Linked DNA regions of Homo sapiens: region 1 is linked to region 2. The links are contacts of gene promoters, found by promoter capture Hi-C in blood cells and fetal thymus (Javierre and others, 2016). All regions are on one chromosome and are shown on one strand. The core of a region is centred on a gene start or on the middle of the fragment in contact, and the rest is flanking DNA. Distances in the headings are between cores, read along the strand shown. Region 1 overlaps POM121C (POM121 transmembrane nucleoporin C). Region 2 holds the start of STYXL1 (serine/threonine/tyrosine interacting like 1).

Region 1 (3,543 bases), core at 347-2,846, 620 kb after region 2:
GCCTGGCCTCTTGGCTCTTTTCTACTAAGTTGTCTTTTTCTCAGAGATTTGAATATGCTTTTTATATATTCTAGATACAAGCTCTCTGTCATGTATGTGTTACAACAAAAGTGTCCTGCTCTTGCCATTCTACTTCCTTGTAGTTAGCATAGTTTGTGTAGTATTTAGGAAATCTTTGCCTGTCCAACCTAAGGTCATGATAATTTTCTTCTATGCTACCTTCTAGAAGCTTTATTATTTTATTAATATTTTCATATGTAAATCCATAATCCACCTGAAATTGATTTTTGTGTGTGGTGTGAGGTTGGGATCAAAATTAGTTTTTTTTGTTTGTTTGTTTGTTTTTTACTATAGAAATACCCATTTCTCTCAGCAACATTTATTGAAAGGACCATCCTTATTTCTCTGCAGCACTGCCTTTGTCTAATTTAAGTGTCCGTATATATGTGGGTCCATTTCTAGACTTTCTTTTGTTCCATTGGACTATTTTTCTTACTACCCTTGTACCAGTCTTTGTTTTACCCCTACCCTTATACTTTAAGTCTTGATAGAGTCAGTCGTCCCCCTTTCTCATTTCTTTTCAGGACTGTCTTGTTTCTTGGCCTTTTGCATTTTCATATAATTTTTAGATCAACTTGTCAATTTCCACACACACAAAAAAAAGTTTTGAGATACTGATTGGGATTGCCTTTCATCTACTGATTACTTTGGATGGAGTTAACATTGTTATAATATTGACCTTGTTTACTTCTAATCTATGAACATGGAATGTCATTCATTTCTTTATTTAACTTTTGAGACAAGGGGTCTTGCTCTGTGGCCCAGGCTGGAGTGCAGTGGCATGATCATAGCTCACTACTGCCTTGAAATCCCAGGCTCAAGCAATCCTCCTGCCTCAGCCTTTTGAGTACAGGCATGCATCACCACACCTAGCTAATTTTAAAAAACTTATAGTAGAGACAAGGTCTCACTGTGTTGCCTAGGCTGGTCTCAAACTTTTGAGCTCAAGCAGTCTTCCCACCTTGGCCTCTCTGAGTGCTGGAATTATAGGCATGAACCACCATGTCCCACCTCTTTCATTTATTTACATTATCTCTAATTCATCTCTGTAGAAGTTTTACTTCTCTTGTATTAGATTTATTTCTAGGTATCTGGTTTTTGTTTTGTTTTGTGAGATGGAGTCTCGCTCTGTCGCCCAGGCTGGAGTGCAGTGGCACAATCTCGGCTCACTGCACCCTCCACCTCCCGGGTTCAAGTGATTCTCCTGCCTCAGCGTTCCAAGTAGCCGAGATTACAGGCATGCGCCACCACACCTGGCTAATTTTGGAGTTTTAGTAGAGACAGGATTTCACCTTGTTGGCCAGGCTGGTCTCAAACTCCTGACCTCAAGTGATCCACCTGCCTCTGCTTCCCAGAGTGCTGGGATTATAGGCATGAGCCACAGTGCCTGGCCCTAGGTATATGGTTTTGATGCTATTATAAATAGTGTCTTCAAAATGTGATTGGCTGTGCTGGTGTCTAGAAATACAACTGATTTTGTATTCAGAAAGTTTGCTAAATCTGTATGTTCTTTAGGATTTTAGTACATACACTCATGTCTATGATAATGAGTTTTTCCTTCCCTCTGCAGTCTTATTCTGTTTATGTCTTACTGCACTTGGCTAGGACTTTGAGTTGAATAGACATAATAATAAACATCCTTGTCTTGTTATATCTGAAATGAGTGTGTACGTACAGTCAATGAAGTAGAGGAGTAATAACTTTTTTCCCCTAATTGTTAAACCAGTTGACCAGTTGTCTTCCAGTCCTAGCTAATCATTACAGTCACCTTTGGCTTTTTTTTTTTTTTTTCCTTGAAGAGACCTCACTATATTGCCTAGGCTGGTCTCAAAACTCTTGGGCTCAAGTGATCCTCCCACCTTGGCCTCCCAAAGTGTTGGGATTACAGGCATGCACCACCACACCTGGCTAATTTTTGTATTTCTAGTAGAGATGAGGTTTCACCATGTTGGCCACACTGTTCTCGAACTCCTGACCTCAGGTGATCCTCCTGCCTCAGCCTCCTGAAGTGCTGGGATTACAGGCATGAGCCACCTCATCCGGCCCCTTTGGCATTTCTGACCCTTGCTTGCTCAGTGATGTGTATCCCTCAGTGTCTGGAGCACATTGTGAACAAAAATGCAAGGTTTATGGTTTTGTTTTAATTTTATTACTTTAACTACAGATAGGGTCTTTCTGTGTTGCCCAGGCTGGTCTGAAACTCCTGGGCTCAAGCAGTTCTCCTGCCTCAGTCTCCCAAAGTGCTAGGATTACAGGCATGAGCCACTGCACTTGGCCATCTATGTGCTTTTAAAGTTCCACAGGTGGCTAAGCGTGGTGGCTCACACCTGTAATCCTAGTGCTTTGGGAGGCCAAGGCGGGCAGATCACGAGGTCAAGAGATCAAGACCATCCTGGCCAACATGGTGAAACCCCATCTCTACTAAAGATACAAAAATTAGCCGGCTGTGGTGGCATGCTCCTGTAGTCCCAGCTACTCAGGAGGCTGAGGCAGGAGAATCGCTTGAACCAGGGAGGCGGAGGTTGCAGTGAGGTGAGATCGTGCCACTGCACTCCAGCCTGGTGACAGAGCAAGGCTCCGTCTCAAAAAAAAAAAAAGTTCCACAGGTGACTGATGAGCCGTCGTGTGAGAACCAGCGAGGTAGTGTCAGGGATCTGAAGTGATTGAAAATGCCGCTTATATATTCAATCCTTGGATCCCTTTGATGAGTTTTTGTATTCTGCTCTTTTATATGCCTGTAATCCCATGTTTTTTAAACCATTGTGCTCTGGCCTTTCTTGCTGTTTGAGCGTAACTTCAACTGTTATTGCCGTGAGCAGTCTTCTCAAGCTCCTCCTGGGCCCGGCTTCCTGATGATGGCCTCACTGAACTGTTCTGCTGCTTACCACTTGTCTGAAGCTTCCTCTTTTCCCTTTTTGAACTCTTATTAAGCTTGGCTTCCTGTTTGTACTTATTAAGCTTGTTGGCTTCCTGTTTGTACTTATATGATGTAGCTGGTACTGGGTAAGAAATCACTAGCAGCTTTTCAAGTAGGAAAGACGGTCTGAGGTGACAGTTTAGTGGCTTTGTAATTAGGCTCAGCACTTACGAGACTATTTGCAGTGTCCGCTCTGTGCCATCTACTTTGCTGCTGGTCTGTGGAGGAAGCAGAGATGAAAACACCATCTTTGCTGTCAAGAACTCACCTGGTGGAAGAGGCAGATGTATGGATAATCATCACATGATGATAAATGCCATCGTTGTTGCAAAAGTCATAAATATTATGACAGTGCTTTTTTTGTTTTTGTTTTTGTTTTTTGTTTCTTTTTGAGACAGAGTCTCACTCTGTCACCCAGGCTGGAGTGCAGTGGCACGATCTTGGCTCACTTCAAGCTCCGCCCCCCAGGTTTACGCCATTCTCCTGCCTCAGCCTCCCGAGTAGCTGGGACTACAAGCACCCGCCACCACGCCCAGCTAATTTTTTGTATTTTTTTGTATTTTTAG
Region 2 (3,618 bases), core at 223-2,722:
CCTGTCCTAAGTTTACTCATTCCTGTCCCATATCAAGTGTCACTTCTCACTTATCTTGGTATCCCCTGCAGCACCCAGCATAGTTGTTGGCAAGCACAGGTACTTAATGTACTTATCTGTATACAGCTGGGCCCCCACTTCACCGCAGCGCAAAAGCATTTGGTACATTCAACTTACAATGGGGTTGCCTGTGGGAACCCATTGCAAGTTGAAAATACACAAAGTTAAACTCGCCTTTTGACTTAGGATATTACCAACTTGCGATGGGTATGGGAAGTAGCCATCAATCCAGGAGCATTTGTATTTATTTTTCAAATGAACTGGATGTACAGGAAACTCGAGAACTTCGATGATAAATTTGGATTCCCCTTTAAAATTACCTCCCTCTTGGGCGTCGTAATTAAAAGGCAATGCGAGCACCTCCTGGGTTCTCAAAATTAGGTTTAATTAGATTCACCTGGTAAAAATGCGGACCCCCCCCCCCCCCCCCGCAGTCTTAAGCTTCTTCAATGAACCCAGACGTCTGTTTTTTATTAGCTTTCTGGTGATTCTGACACACTGCAGAGTTTAAGAACCACCATTCTAGAAGATGGCTAAAAATAGCCTAGGCTCCTAGGCTTAAGTGGTCGCGGGCCAAGTCAAGCACTGTTAAGACACCTGGCGGCAGGCTCAGTCCGCCCACAGCAGGAGAGATCCTCCAAAAAGGTTAAGAGGAAGCCGTCTTCAGGTCAGAAGCGCTGAATTCTAATCCTCTGGCCAAATGACTGTAACCCTGGCCCAGTTCTCTAGCCTCGGTTTGTCCATACTATGGAATTAGGAAGTATACGATTTCTTTTATTCACGCACAACTCACACGGATGCTGCAAGGAGATTAGCTACGTCAAAGCAATGGAACGCTGCAGAAAAAAACGTAAGTTTACTTTCAGATGCAGAGCCCTGGTTTCCCAACCTTGAAGGCGTGCAAGCCAAGAGCAGGTCCTCTGGGAAATCTGGGAGACCTGGGGGAACCCTGACAAATGGACCGGCCCTGGAGCGGGACTACCTCGCCCCCTTTTCCCCGGCTTTCTCCCCCGCACCTCCAGGCCAGTGTCAGGGCCTGCCCCGGGCGCCACAGTCTCCAGCCAGTGCCGGGCATCCCTGCGGTCCAGGCTGGCCTGGAGAGGGTCAGAGCTGCCCGCGAACCGGGGACGCACGTGGCCCGGGCCGGGGGGCCTCCGCCTGCAGGCCGCCCCTCGTCTGGCCTACCTGGGCCGAGGTGCTGAAGCTGCGGCGGAGAGCAGCGCTGGCAGGCCGGGCGAGGGCGGAGAGCATGGCTGGAGCGGGAGGGGCACCGACTGGCAGGCACAGGAGCTGGTGACGGGGAAGTGACTCCAACGACCTCCACACTGCCCAGCGCCTGCTCTCTGGGGCCTCGCGAGAGTGACCGGACTTCCGGTCGCGCTCGCCTCCGGGATCTCGTGAGATCACGGCCACTTCCGGGAGTCGGAAAGGAAAGCTGTGGGACCATCCTGGCAACCCCGGTGTTTGGCTGGGTTCTAGCGTAGCCGTCTGTGTGGCCGGTGGGGGACCTGCGGTCGGAGTGGGAGGGCCAGTCTGCACCCAAGAGGTGGAAGAGGACGGGCTTTAGGCTGGAAGCGCCTTAGAGGAGCCATTTTTCCAGGTGGGGCCCCAGGCAGAGGCTCCGACAGGGAGCCTGGCCATAGTCGCGCAGCCGGGGAGGTGGAGCGCGTCCCAGACCCGAGCCCCCGACCTCAGCCAAACCCATTCCTTCTGCCCTTGGAGGCCAGAGGGGACTCTGAGCTCCGGAAAGGTAGGGTCAGGGAGGCTGAGAGTCCTTAGGCGGGGTGGGAGGAAGGGGCCATCTCCTCAGATCCGGGCCGTCGTTTCCCAAGTTGCAGAGACCCTTGGGTTCAGGTTTAGTGACACCACTGCTGATAATGGCGACCTCCAGCCCTGCAAGCTTTAGAGGACCACTATTCTGTGTTCCAGATGAGCAAATAGGTTGTAGGGACAACAACTTCCGTGGTCATACAGTTCCTGTCTTCTCTCGCCTGCCCGGCAGTGCTCTGACGGTCCCACTGTTTCTGCTTTACGAATAAAGACACTGTGGCTGAGGCCAAGTGGATTTGTAGAGTTTACGCAGACAGAAAGTCGAGTAGAATTCCTTGCTCACAATGAGTTTATTACTTAAATGTATGAATTTATTTATTTTTTTGAGACGGAGTCTCTCTAGCCCAGGCTGGAGTGCAGTGGCGCGATCTTGGCTCACTGCAACCTCTGCCTGTCAGGTTCAAGTGGTTCTCCTGCCTCATTCTCCTGAGTAGCTGGGATTAGCGCACCACTACACCTGGCTAATTTTTTGTATTTTTTTTTTAGTAGAGACGGGGTTTCACCACGTTGGTCAGGCTGGTCTCGAACTCCTGACCTCGTGATCCACCCGCCTCGGCCTCCCAAAGTGCTGAGATTACAGGCGTGAGCCACCGCGCCCGGCCTGATACATATTTTTAAAATTAAACAACACCCCCAGGCAAGGTGGCTCATGCCTGTAATCCCAGCACTCTGGGAGGCTGAGGCGGGCCGATCACTTGAGGCCAGGAGTTCATGACCAGCCTGGCTAACATGGTGAAACCCCATCTCTACTAAAAATACAAAAATTAGCCCAGCGTGGTGGTGTACACCTGTAGCCCCAACTACTCCGGAGGCTGAGGCAGGAGAATCGCTTGAACCCGGGAGGTGGAGGGAGGTTGCAGTGAGCCGAGATAACCCCACTGTACTCCAGCTTGGGCGACGGAGAAAGACTCTGTCTCAAAAAAAAAAAAAAAAAAAGCCGGGTGTGGTGGCTTATGCCTGTAATCCCAGCACTTTGGGAGGTCAAGGCGGGCAGATCACCTGAGGTCAGGAGTTTGAGACCAGACTGGCTAATGTGGCGAAACCCCATCTCTACTAAATATACAAAAATTGGCTGGGCATGGTGGCGTGTGCCTGTAGTCCCAGCTACTCAGGAGGCTGAGGCAGGAGAATCCCTTGAACCCAGGAGGTGGAGGTTGCTGTGAGCCAAGATTGTGCCATTGTACTCCATCCTGGGTGATAAGAGCTAAACTCCGGCTCAAAAGCGCGCGCGCGCGCGCGCGCACACACACACACACACACACACACACACACACACACACACACACACACACACACACACACACACAGCAGATAAGCTGAGACATGCTGGAAGAGTAGGTGTTTCTCAATGGAACATTCAACTCCAGAGGAGGGAAAGATCCCTTGCCTTGGAATCAGAATTCTCAAAGGAGGGGCACTAGGGCCTGAGCATTTAACAATGGGAAATGTTTAGACAGGAAAGGAGGAGAAAAAAGGCCAAATAAAATCCTAGCGGGAAAAAATAAGCATAGGCCAGTATTCAGGGGACAGTGAATAGATCATTTATTTTGGAGTGGGGACATTAGGGCAAGCAGTGTCCTTTGTTTATCTTATCACTGACTGCATCTTCTGGTAATTATTTACTCCTCTGTCTTGTAACTGAGAGCACCTCAGAGCCAGGTATTAAGTCTTGCCAGGTACTAAGTCTTTCTTCTGTTTTTTTTGTCCAACATGCGACTGGGCTGAAAG

What was found. Contacts are between HindIII fragments. The CHiCAGO score rates a contact against its expected background, and 5 or more counts as called.
Region 1: a contact is called between a fragment that was not itself captured here and the fragment with the promoter of STYXL1 in region 2, in 2 of 17 cell types (erythroblasts and fetal thymus). The highest score is 7.4, in erythroblasts.

The regions. Positions count from the first base shown.
Region 1 is chr7:75,427,260-75,430,802 of GRCh38, reverse strand. All of the region lies in intron 7 of POM121C (POM121 transmembrane nucleoporin C), which reads left to right. Among named protein-coding and RNA genes, the nearest start is that of TRIM73, 33 kb to the right of the region's middle. The HindIII fragment of the contact is 2,729 bases long and covers 232-2,960 here.
Region 2 is chr7:76,045,854-76,049,471 of GRCh38, reverse strand. It overlaps STYXL1 (serine/threonine/tyrosine interacting like 1), which reads left to right and starts at 1,472. Exons shown (of 9, transcript NM_001317785.2): 1 at 1,472-1,810. MDH2 (malate dehydrogenase 2) reads right to left here and starts at 1,366. Exons shown (of 9, transcript NM_005918.4): 1 at 1,246-1,366. The coding sequence starts at 1,311. RefSeq lists enhancers at 435-1,216, 1,492-1,571, 1,682-1,771, 1,217-1,999 and a silencer at 1,082-1,241. The HindIII fragment of the contact is 1,459 bases long and covers 504-1,962 here.